Linked DNA regions of Homo sapiens: region 1 is linked to region 2. The links are contacts of gene promoters, found by promoter capture Hi-C in blood cells and fetal thymus (Javierre and others, 2016). All regions are on one chromosome and are shown on one strand. Each heading gives the region's core, a stretch centred on a gene start or on the middle of the fragment in contact. The rest is flanking DNA. Distances are from core to core; before and after follow the strand shown. Region 1 overlaps LINC02577 (long intergenic non-protein coding RNA 2577). Region 2 holds the start of SLC26A4 (solute carrier family 26 member 4).

The links. Contacts are between HindIII fragments. The CHiCAGO score rates a contact against its expected background, and 5 or more counts as called.
Region 1: a fragment that was not itself captured here is called in contact with the fragment with the promoter of SLC26A4 in region 2 in 1 of 17 cell types (fetal thymus); the score reaches 5.5 in fetal thymus.

The regions. Positions count from the first base shown.
Region 1 is chr7:106,789,826-106,796,374 of GRCh38, forward strand. All of the region lies in intron 1 of LINC02577 (long intergenic non-protein coding RNA 2577), which reads left to right. Among named protein-coding and RNA genes, the nearest start is that of LINC02577, 18 kb to the left of the region's middle. The HindIII fragment of the contact is 160 bases long and covers 3,266-3,425 here.
Region 2 is chr7:107,655,986-107,662,249 of GRCh38, forward strand. It overlaps SLC26A4 (solute carrier family 26 member 4), which reads left to right and starts at 4,843. Exons shown (of 21, transcript NM_000441.2): 1 at 4,843-4,870; 2 at 5,654-5,820. The coding sequence starts at 5,657. It overlaps SLC26A4-AS1 (SLC26A4 antisense RNA 1), which reads right to left and starts at 5,813. Exons shown (of 2, transcript NR_028137.1): 1 at 5,617-5,813; 2 at 531-4,221. The HindIII fragment of the contact is 14,838 bases long and covers 1,952-6,264 here.

The DNA of each region.
Region 1 (6,549 bases), core at 2,096-4,595, 870 kb before region 2:
GTTGTCAAGGCTGCAGTGAGCCATGATCAAGCCACTGCACTGCAGTCTGGGCAACAGTGAGACCCCATCTCAAAAATAATAAATAAATAACTGAAAATGTTGTTAAGTATGTAGCACCTCTCTTCTTCCTGCTTTGCCATGTGACATGCCTCCTCCCACTTTGCCTTTGGCCATGAGTAAAAGCTCCCTGAGGCTTCCACAGAAGCCAAGCAGATACTGGCGTCATGCTTCCTGTACAGCCTGCAGAACTCGGAGCCAGTTAAATCGCTTTTCTTTATAAATTACCCAGTGTCGTGTATTCCCTTATAGCGAGACCTAATACAGTTTGTCTTATTGTCTTTCATTCTTTATTTGTTAATTCATTGCACACTTATTAAATGTTCATCATACACGCACTGCTGCTCCTGCAGGAGATCACTGGCCTTTATCCTATCCCTTGGCTCCATCTTTCTTCCCACCTTTCTGTGGAAACTGACAGGAGCAACTAATTCAGCCCTGAGGGTCATGAATATCCACAAAGGGAGCATTTAAGTTGATTTTACCAGGATTTTCTTCTCCCTTTCCCAGAAAATTTGAGTGGAAAATCCCTCTTGATCAAGTCAGCAAATCTCCTGCCAAACAAATTCTTCCCAGTCTTTGAAAGATCCAATCCCCCTATTCTGGTAGGTTTGGCTATTATCCAGGAAACCTAATCTCACTCCTCTAAACCAGCAACAGAAGCCAAGTCTTCCTTTCCTGCATCCTTTTCTTCCAAAGCCAACTGGAAAGAAAAAATAAACCAAAAATTCTATCTAGACCCTAAAATTCTCTATTTTCTGTTCAAAACTCCAACAATGGAGATACAATTGAAACTTCTTAACATCACAGAATTTGTTTTTAGCAGAAATCGATATAAGAGGCCAGCCTCCTCCTCCTCCTAGAGATGAGGGAGAAATAGAGACTCAGAAGGGTATGCAATGTGCCAAGAGCCGGGCAGGACAATGCACTTGTCAGGGCCTGAGTCTTAAGAAGTCAACATTTACCAAGTCCCCACAGCCTGTCTTGTCATCAGGAACTGAAGGAAGCAAATGAGAGGGGAGCCCACCAACTCTCTGTGGTCCAGGTGTAATCAGGAGGCCCCTCCCCATGTTCTCCTCCAGGACACCTTTGGCAGGAATGAAGAGGGGACTCTGTATGCTCCTGACTGGAGCCCAACCTACCAATCCCCAGCCTTCACACTCCACACCACTATCCTCCTTGAGACCACCAAGATCAACCTCAGCATGCTCCCTAACCTTGTTTATGTCAACACAAGAAGCCCAGGACTCCCAGGTCAGCCCTCAGACCCCACACGGCTCTATGAGAGCAAACAACCACCTCCTCAAACACACACACACGATCCTAATTACCCCTCCTGCACTGCATTTTGTTTTTTTTTTTTTTTTACTTAGCATTTATGATTATTTGATAATTCATAAGCTCTATTTACTTGTTTTTCCATCCTCTCCCAGAATAAAAGGTCTTTGAGAGCAGGAATTTTAGTTTGTTTTGTTCACTCTTCTATCTTCAGTGTTAGCACTTTGTAAGAGCTTAATAAACATTTGTTAAATCAATAAATCTCTAAGACCGTTTTTTGAAGTCTGAAAATGCCAGGATGAAAGGATGTCGGAGAAGTTTAAGAGAAGAGCCATCATTTGTGGCAGCCAGAACACTTGAAAAAGGGAAGGCTTGAATTCTAAAGATTTTCAGAACCGGCATGGATCAAGTGAAAGAACAATTAGCAGTGGGGTGTTCAGAGCAGACACAGGGCCAGACATAAGCAAAATAGCGTTCCTTCTGAAACAGGGAATAGAAATAACTTCACACCTACTATGTGCCAAGCACCGTGTCAACAAGCACTATTCAAGATGGAATTGTTATCCCCATATACAGATGAAGAAACTGAGGCAAAGAGGAGATAAGTAACTGCCCAAGATCCACAGTTAGTAAGGAGGAGAGCCACTTTTCAAACCTGAAGTTTACCCAGATCCAAAATCCACCTCCCTTCCTCTCACTGAGTCTGCCTGGCCCATCCATCCCAGGCATCAGGCCCCTTCCTCTGTGACCCCGACTGAATTCTTCAGTGCCTCCTTCTCCAAGTTCCAGATGACCCCGAGGATCAATTAGTTCCCATGCAGTGCTAACAAATGCCACAGGCTCAGACCCTGGGTCCTGTCTTCCTCTCTAAATCAACACTTGCAGGAAAAAAGTATGGACCCAACTAGAAAGTACTTTTAATGATTAAGTTATTAAATAAACCCCAAAAAAGTACAGTGAAAGGGATTGGTAAGGGGGATAATTAGAATATAGCCTACTGGTATATCTGGTAAAGTTTTTATGATAATAAATTAAAATATCATAAAGTTTTTATAATAAATAGGATATTGATTAGTCTTTTCTAAACCTCAGCATACTTTTTTTTTGGTTTTGAAACAGAGTCTCTGTCACCCAGGCTGGAATGTAATAGCACGATCTTGGCTCACTGCAACCTCCACCTCCTGGGCTCAAGTGATCCTCCTGCCTCAGCCTCGGCATACTTTCTAACCTTGTTTATGTCACCACAAGAAACCCAAGGCTCCTGGGTCAGCCCTTATCCCCCACACGGCTCTATAAGCAGTAAGCAACCACCTCCCCAAACACACACACGCAATCCTTATCTTCCTTCCTGCCCTTTTGTAAAACTTAGCATTTATGATCATTTGACAAATCATATACTTTATTTACTTGTTTGTCCATCCTTTCCTGGAATAAAAGGACTATTAGAGCTGGAATTTGTTTGGACAGAAAAAAAAAGTGTTTAAATAAAAGCAGAGAGAGAGAGACATGGTTTATAACAAAGTCTCATTAGGATGATGAAACACTTAAATAAATTTTTACTGGGGTCGTGATCCCTGGAAAAACTTTCAAAATAAGAACTCTGACATTCACACTGAATGACTCTTCCTTCCATCACCGAGACACTCTGATCCAGATCAGATGGCCTCACAGTTCCGGCCAACTGGGTGAATCCAGGGTTAAAAATGGCCACCTACTTTTCATGGGGCCCACTCGACAGCTCAGTTGTTTGGAGGTATAGTGCTTGCAGAACCAAGGTCACAGGTAATGAGCGGGATTATTGTTCATCATTAAGCATTAAGTGTTATCTATGAAATGATGTTGTTTAATGGTGCTATAGGCTTTTAGCAATAGAGTCATCAAGAAATATAAAATCCAGACTTTAGGTTTAGTGGGAGAAGAGGGAAAGGAAAGCTTAAAATTAGGATAGTTGTAAGAAAGATGCTTATTAAAGAAAGATGAATGGAGTTTCTCTGCTTCTAGTCCTAAAAGACACTAGTGTTACAGGTACCTGTTATTTTTCCACCTGCCCAGCAGGTGTCAGTGTAAGACAATGTTCCTAGAACTGACCAAGCTTTTTTAAAAATTGAGAGTTATCAAATTATAAAATACAGAAGATACAATAAAGATGGGTTTGCAAAAATTTTCACATGAGCCTTTAAATGAGGGAAGGAGATGACCAAAAATAAGTTTCCAGAAAGGTAAGATGATCAGAGTTGGACTGGGGGGCCTCAGAAGGCCCCATCTGGCTCTCAGATTTCTTGTCAATTCAGCGGGAATTCCTGGAGCATCTCGGGGCTGCAGGAGGACTCAGCACTGTTGGAAGAGTTCGTTGCTGGTAACTAGCACAGTAACAAATGAACACTCCCAGGGAAAATGGTAGTATTCCACCAGGCATACTCTCTTAAAAAACAGACACCGTCTCTGCTTCTCAGAGGCTTACAATAAGAACATAGAAATCCTGTAATTCATGAAAATATATTATTATAAGAACTAAAAAAGTGAATCAAGGAAAAAGAGATGGTCATCAATGGTTGCATGAATAATTTGCAGAATGCACTGAGTTAGTCAGGGTGAGCTTCCCGGAGGAGCTGGCCATTGAGCTGTGACGAAAGAGAACAGAGCCACAAATCCAGGGTTCCACCCTAGCTCCTGCCTTTCTGTTCTGCATTCAGTTTTTCTCCTCCAAATACAAATGTCCTATACACTGATGAAGGGCAAGCAATACAGAAAAAGAAAATAAACACAACTTATTTTTTTAATTCACTATATAAAGGTTCCGTGGGTATTTTAAAGGGAAAATGGTGGGGGGCGGGGGCTCTTATCTATTGCGCATGTAACAAGACATACATTATGTCATACAAGTCTAACCAAAATCCTGAGATGTAAGTAGTATTGTTCTCATTTTTGCATAAAGGATCCAAGGCTCCCAGAAGCCATAAACTTGCCCAAGATTATGATATCTAATATTTATGAGGGATTACTCCGCATACACAATAATCCTATGAAGTTACTATTATTCCCATTTATTGGATGAAGACATTAAGCCTTACAAAAAATAAGTGATTGTCTCCCCAAAGCCACAGGCCTCAGGAGCCATTAAGATGAAATTCAAACTCATGTTTAGCAAGGTGGGTTCTCTGGGAACTCAGGTTGTAGGTGTTTGCTAGGAAGTGCCCTTAGGATTAGTACCTATGGAGAGAAGGGGAGGGTGGAAGGATTGGCCAGCACTGGGCCAAAGAGCCAGGCTTTTCTACACCTGTCTCCATCAGTCACTGGATATGGGCCTCACAGGAGGGAATGGCCTTGGGGAAGGCAGCTCTCTGCAACTGAGGTGGACCTGAAGGGTTGGTACCTGACAACTGTCTGCTGACAGCACTCCCAGAGCTAGAACAAGTCCTTCCTAGGAGGGGCATCTGGCATCACCACGTTCATTATGCCATGCCTGTGTCTTACTTTGTTCCAGTTAATCATGATCTCTGCTACACCATGCTGGGAGAAGGCCAGAAGGGAGGCAGTGGTAGTCTTTGATAGAGTTGGAGGGTGGGGCAGGGCTGGGGGTTGTGGAGTGGTGAGCCCAGACCCCAGACTTCCTGGGGAAATGAATACCAGGCTCTCATCCAAAGAGACATTTCATCAAATAACATCAAGTGGAAATAAACAAAGGGGTTGAGGCTGATTGCACTGGCTCCAAGTACTGTCAGCCATTAGATGCTTGTTGTTCAGTTGATTGACAGCTTCCAGGTGGCCAAGTAAGGAAGGATGCAACAGTTGGCCCAGACCTCGTGCTGCTTAGTAACATCTGATCTCCTCCTGCTGTGTGCCGCTTTCTCACCCGGAGGCACCTGAGCTGCTCCATATGCCTGGTGTGCTAAGCGCTGGCCTTTCTGTGCTGTGCGGTCCTGCTCTAAGGTGAGGGTAGCCTTGAGAGGGCTGTTTGCCATTTGGAAATAGAGTCAGCTTGTGGCTCTCTCAAGAAGTGAGAACAGCAAAATTCAAGCCTGAGTGGTAACCAGTTTCTCATACTTCTGCTTGAATTCAGAGAGCAGCTGACTTGACAGAAGGCAAAAAGCCGGCCAGCTTAGCTCACTCAGTGACAAGTGAGCACAGAGCAAAACTAACTTTCCATGGTTCAATTCCTCTCCAGTGTCACCCTGCTTGCACATGGAAGGGAGGCCTGAGAGGCTGCAGAATGGCCCTGGAGAAGGCAAGAGACATCATCTGGTTGGCCTGGAGTGCACGTCTGTGAGAGACTTTGGGGCAGTTCTCTCTTCTCTATGCTAGAGCCATTGATGCCCTGTGCACTTCATTGCCTTTGACCATCATTCCTTGCTCCTGGAATGCCACCTCCTCTTTGCCACAGTTAATAAAACCAGCTGAAGCCTCCGTTCAAACTCTCTTCCATGAAACTCTCCATCCGCATCACCACTCCGGTCAAAAGTACTGCAGTTTTTCTTCATTTGATACCTATCACTTAGCAACAGGGGTTCCAGCATTTTAAATTGTGCGTAAGAATCTCCTGAAGTGTTTGATTAAAGGCAGATCTTATGGCTGTGGGCTCTAGCCATTCTGAGTCAGCAGGAATGGAGAGGGCTGGGAGTCTGGATTTTCATTATCAGTCTTGGCCCTCCTGGTGAACTTGGTTTGAAAAAGGATACTTAGAGAAGTACTGGCATTATGACTGTAAAACATTTCTTCTCTCCAAAAGAAGGGATGATACACTTGCTGTAGAGTCTGTTTCCTCCTCTGAAGTGCATGCAATAGTGTTACAGGACCCCAACACTTACCCAAAGGTAGCCTTTGGGAAGGGGGTTTCCACACTATAGTCCCTTCTGCGGTGAACAGAAAGATGTTACAGGACTCCAACACCTACTGGGGGTTTCCTCACTATAGTCCCTTCTGTGGTCACCAAAAAGATGTTACAGGAAAGGCATCCCCATCCAGACCCCAAGTGAGGGTTCTTGGATCTCAGGCAAGAAAGAATTCAGGATGAGCTTGTAGAGTAAAGTGAAAGCAAGTATATTAAGAAAGTAGAGAAGCCAGGAATGGTGGCTCACGTCTGTAATCCCAGCACCTTGGGAGGCTGAGGCGGGCAGATCACAAGGTCAGGAGACTGAGACCATCTTGGCTAACACAGTGAAACCCCATCTCTGCTAAAAATACAAAAAATTAGCCGGGTGTGGTGGCATGTGCCTG
Region 2 (6,264 bases), core at 3,593-6,092:
TAATCAGCATTTTGGAAGGCTGAGGTGGTAGGATTATTTGAGCCCAGGAGTTTGAGACCAGCCTGGGTAACAAAGCGAGACCCCATCTCTTGAAAAAAAAAAATCATCATTAAAACAAACATTAAAAGAAACCCACCTGGGTGTGGTGGCTCACACATGTAATCCCAGCACCCTGGGAGGATGAAGCAGGTGGATCTCTTGAGCACAGGAGTTTGAGACCAGCCTGAGCAAGATGGCAAAACCCTGTCTCTACAAAAAATACAAAAATTAGCCGGGTGTGGTGGCACATGCCTATAGTCTCAACTACTTGGGAGGCTGAGGTGGAGAATGGCTTGAGCTTTGGAGGTGAAGGTTGCAGTGAGCTGAGATAGTGTCACTGCACTTCAACCTGGGTGACAGAGCCAGACCCTGTTTAAAACAAACAAACAAACACACACACACACACACACACACAGAAAACCCCTCAAAACCCAAAACTATGCCATCATTTCGTTCTAGCAATTTACTAAACCACATATCAAGTTTGCATTCATATTAAAGAAGAGGCAGATGGGCTCTGCCTGAGAAATTTATTGAGTTATAGTTTTATTGACACTGTAAGTTGTTTAAAATTGAATGGATTGCCACATAATATTTACAAATAATTTCATTTTTTGATGTTTTAATGGTTGGATTCTCTTCTTTTAAAACTAGTTTTTTTTCTACCCAAATATTTCTCAAAATTCCATTGTTAAACAATCAATTGATCAATAATTTAACAAGTCTGGTACCTATTATATTGTCATAATTTGTCAAGGTATTGTGTAGGGAAATAAAGAGACTAGCATTATAATTTTACTTTAATAAAAATGTATACCTATGTCTGCATAGAAAGAATAAATAAAAAAAGAAGCAAAACAGTGATTATCTGGATAATGAGATAAAATGTGATTACTATATTATACATTAATGTAGTTTCCAAATTATTTACTACAGGCACATCTTATTTTTGTAACACCATAAAAGACATATACTATTTATGTCCCTAGGGAGCATATCTTATAACTGGAGAAGAAAATAAAGTAGCATACAGTAAACAAATAGAAAACAATTGAGTGCAAGATAAAAATAACAACAAAAAACCAAGAAAACAATTGAGTGCAAAACTGTATGATTACTGAGAATAAGCCCAATAAGTTGCTCAGAGAAGAAGAGATCAGAAATATAGAAAGAAAGTTCAGTTCAGTTCTCTTTTTGTATAAGTATGACAAAAATTTAGCATTTGCTATCTTGAGAAAATTAACACGCATAATGAAATAAAAGCTCAGGATTAGGCCTGGCTCAAGTGATCCTCCCGCCTCAGCTTCTCAAAGTGTTGGGATTACACTGTGAGCCACAGCGCCCAGCCAACATGTTTGCATTCTTTTGCAATTCTTCTGATTTGAGAACATTTTAAATTGTAAAAAAAAAAAAAAAAAGAAAAAATTTATACCACAATATTCGCTCTCAGACAAAAATAATGTAGCAAGATTGACTGCTCTTAAGTTAAATAAACGAAGGATTCAATTAAATCATTCTTGTAGCACACGTAGTCACTCAAAAGCATAGATACTCTGTCAGGTGTGGTGGTGTGCACCTATAGTCCCAGCTATTCTGGAGACTGGGAGTTCAAGTCCAGCCTGGGCAAAATAGCAAGATCCCATCTCTAAAAAAGAAAAAAAAGGCATAGATACACTATAAATTTATGTAAATATCTATATTTTATTAATTATAGAATTCTATTATAAAACTCATTTTATGAATCACAAAATACGCTATCAATTAAACTATAATATATAGTAGATCATCAATTATAACATGAACCCTGATAAAATGTGAAAAATCTGTATTTTATAATCAGTGAAATAAGATACACATTTTGTGACCATTTGATTAGTGTCTACTGCACCCATAAATATGAGGCCAGGGTATAAGCTTTTGTTCATCATTGTACCCACAGCCAGCACAAATAATTTCCTAATAAATCCTTGAATGAATGAATGAATGAACAGGTGAATGCGTAATCAAACAAGGGAGTTTGTCTTACACTGCAAATGCCTAAATGATAAATAAGAAAATGCCTTTTAAAAAAGTATTAACTGCTAAATAAGTACTGTAAAGTATCAATAATATTGTCTGATATTTATTTTTAAGTGATGCATCTATTTCTTTGGAAAGAAGTCCTGAATATTTTAAAAGTCTGATAAATAAGAACCACCCACCTCTGTGTGAAACAGGAGAAGGTTGCCTTATAAAGCCCAAGTGAGTAATCTAAGGTGTTTAATATCACAATTAAATAGGGTGGAGAGAGCAAGCTGTTATTTCCTCCTACTCTTCTGTTTTTAAAAAGCCAAATTCAAACGGTCTGCCTTTTACCTATGAGAAAAGCAGTTCTATACCCTTATAGAATCCTGTAACAGAGATACCATTTTGTTCTGCCCCAGCTATTTCTGCTATGGAAAAGCATTGAACAGAAAAAAGCAATTATCTTCATCCAGATACATGCAGGACTTATTATATTGTGATTATTGAACCAAACTCTTATATAGAGAGATGCATTTCAAATAAGAATTCTATTAGCCAAGCTAAGTTACTCTTTTGCCTCCTGTTGTTACTCAAGTCTTTTCTCTTCTGTCCTTCTGCCAGCCTTACCCCACTCCTTAATCCTCTGAACCAGCAAACCATTGCCAAGTTCTGATGCAAAGTGGTTTATAGGCCTGACTGGACCAGACTAAAAGTGTTCAAAATAGCAAGCAACAAGGAGCAGAAATCCATATTAGAATGGGATATGGACTATATTTATATTGGTACAGAATGCCTTCAATAAAGAGTTGTGAGTTGTGTAGGTGAGTTGCCATGGAGCTACAAATATGAGTTGATATTCTGAAATCCTAGACAGCCATCTCCAAGGTTAAGAAAAATCCTTATGCACTCACTTGCAAAGATATCCACAGCATGCTCTTAATGGAGAAAAACAAAGCCTTAGATCAAATATGTAAAGTAATTTTTAGTTTTTTGAAAAGGTATGTTTGGGCTATAGATAAATCTGTTCAAAAAACATGAGAGAAGATAATAATGGTTGAAAGGAGACACAGTGCTTGCCCTCAAGAAGTTTTTGTCTAGTGAGGGAGAGAGAACTTGTATGTAAATAAAATTGTGTTACTAAGGTAGATAGTGAGAAGTAACTTAAGAGAGGATCAGATAAGGTATTAAGAGAATACAGAAAAGGGTCTGGATTAATTCTGAACAGCATCAAAGAATGTTCTTGCAAGAGATAGTGTTTTCACCAGATCTTGAAGGTATGGATGAGGGTATACAGAGTGAGTATATTCAGATTCTACTTTAAAACAAATACTTTCCTCTGTTGTAGTGGAGTTGAGCTATACATCCAACAATAATGAAAAAATACACGCATATATACATATATGGAGAGAGATACATATTTTAGTACATGTAGCAATTGATTAATAAATGTACAGTTTAAGTCGCATGCAAAACCTTGGAGTGATAGCAAACTTCATTGTAGGATGTTTAGCAGCATCTCTGGTCTCTACTCACTAGATCCCAATAGCATCTCCCTAGGTGTGACAACCAAAAATGTCTCCAGGCATTGACCTCTGGAGGCAAAAAAAGCCCTTTATTAAGAACCAGTGGTATACATAAGTAAAACATACACAAGAGATTCCTCCCCTCTTCTCTGTATGTGAATAAAAATTGCAAAGTTCATGACCTGGATTTTCCTTTTAGGTTTCTTCTTTAGTGGTTCTTAACTTCATTGGGTGAAGTAAGCCTTTGAAGATCTGTTGAAAGCTGTTGACTCATTCACTTCTCAGGAAAACGCACATGCTGACTACCATTTCAGAGAATTTGCATCAGGGTTCTCTGGGGAGGAGTTCTGAGTTCTGTTTCCAGGAGCTCGTAGAATTGTCATGGTCTGCATATGCAAGGCAGGTGGATTACGGAAGGTTGATGTACAGAGGTCTGTATTTTGGAGCCTCTTCTGTATTTACTTCAGAACACTAACAATCAGGCGAGAATGTTCTGGTTTATCAAACCCTTCCTTCTGCCTTTCATCTTAACCATGCATTAGTTTTAACAAAGTTCATCCCAACAGAAGACAAAACACTGATGAGGTAGGATAGCTCCAGCTCCTCCTCCCTCTCTTCTAGTCTTGATTTCCATGTAGTCCAGTTTATTCCTTCCCTGATTGTCCAGGAGAATGAGAAAAAGAAAAAACAGAGTCTAGTGGGTAAGAAAGGGCCACCTGGACGGCTTGATTTGGATTGTGAAATAAAACACACACACATGCACACGTAGAATAAGTGGCTAAAATCTGAGTAAATCGTGAACTCTCTGTATCCTCCACCCATTGAATACTCCTAAAAGACTTTCTAGAAATTCAAGGACTTATTAATATAGAAACCTGGCCATTGTTCCTCTTCTCCTCCCCATGTGGTATGAGAGCACCTGTGGCAGGCTCCCAGAGACCACGGACCTCTTCCTCTAGGCGGGCTCTGCTCTTCTTTAAGGAGTCCCACAGGGCCTGGCCCGCCCCTGACCTCGCAACCCTTGAGATTAGTAACGGGATGAGTGAGGATCCGGGTGGCCCCTGCGTGGCAGCCAGTAAGAGTCTCAGCCTTCCCGGTTCGGGAAAGGGGAAGAATGCAGGAGGGGTAGGATTTCTTTCCTGATAGGATCGGTTGGGAAAGACCGCAGCCTGTGTGTGTCTTTCCCTTCGACCAAGGTGTCTGTTGCTCCGTAAATAAAACGTCCCACTGCCTTCTGAGAGCGCTATAAAGGCAGCGGAAGGGTAGTCCGCGGGGCATTCCGGGCGGGGCGCGAGCAGAGACAGGTGAGTTCGCCCTGAAGATGCCCACACCGCCCGGCCCGGGCTCCACTCCCGGGGAGGCCTCGAGGGTTGCGGATGGGACTCTTAAGTGGTCACGGATCAGGTGGGCAGGGGGCAGTACAGCTTTCTTTCTGAGACGCCGAGAGCGAACAGGCTGCTCGGAAAACAGGACGAGGGGAGAGACTTGCTCAATAAGCTGAAAGTTCTGCCCCCGAGAGGGCTGCGACAGCTGCTGGAATGTGCCTGCAGCGTCCGCCTCTTGGGGACCCGCGGAGCGCGCCCTGACGGTTCCACGCCTGGCCCGGGGGTCTGCACCTCTCCTCCAGTGCGCACCTGGAGCTGCGTCCCGGGTCAGGTGCGGGGAGGGAGGGAATCTCAGTGTCCCCTTCCAGCCTTGCAAGCGCCTTTGGCCCCTGCCCCAGCCCCTCGGTTTGGGGGAGATTTCAGAACGCGGACAGCGCCCTGGCTGCGGGCCATAGGGGACTGGGTGGAACTCGGGAAGCCCCCAGAGCAGGGGCTTACTCGCTTCAAGTTTGGGGAACCCCGGGCAGCGGGTGCAGGCCACGAGACCCGAAGGTTCTCAGGTGCCCCCCTGCAGGCTGGCCGTGCGCGCCGTGGGGCGCTTGTCGCGAGCGCCGAGGGCTGCAGGACGCGGACCAGACTCGCGGTGCAGGGGGGCCTGGCTGCAGCTAACAGGTGATCCCGTTCTTTCTGTTCCTCGCTCTTCCCCTCCGATCGTCCTCGCTTACCGCGTGTCCTCCCTCCTCGCTGTCCTCTGGCTCGCAGGTCATGGCAGCGCCAGGCGGCAGGTCGGAGCCGCCGCAGCTCCCCGAGTACAGCTGCAGCTACATGGTGTCGCGGCCGGTCTACAGCGAGCTCGCTTTCCAGCAACAGCACGAGCGGCGCCTGCAGGAGCGCAAGACGCTGCGGGAGAGCCTGGCCAAGTGCTGCAGGTAGCGGCCGCGCGGGCCTGCGTAGAGAGAAGCGGAGCGGGGCGTCCACGCCTTGGGGAGGGAAGGGCGTCCCCAGCGGGCGAGAGTGGGGTGCGGGCGGCGGAGCCCCTGGGCGCCAGCTGCTTCTCCCAGAGGCCCGACTTTCGGTCTCCGGTCCTCCACGCCGCCCTTCTGGTGGGAGGGTGGCTCCATCAGTCTCGGGCCCGAAATGAACTTACCTGGGAAACTCGCCTTTGGGGAGAGTGGGTTCTAGGAGCCCCGTCTCTCTTTTTCCTCTCTGAAGGAAACTTGGAGTGCCTCTTGGGGTACAGTGGGTCCCTGTTGCCTTCTTGGGAGCTTGTTTAAATGAAATGAATAGGGAAACCCAGCTCTTGACCAGGAGGAGTCCTTGAAACACTCAAGCTAAGTAGGCGGGCTACCATTCAGTTAGAGACCAGGATGCAA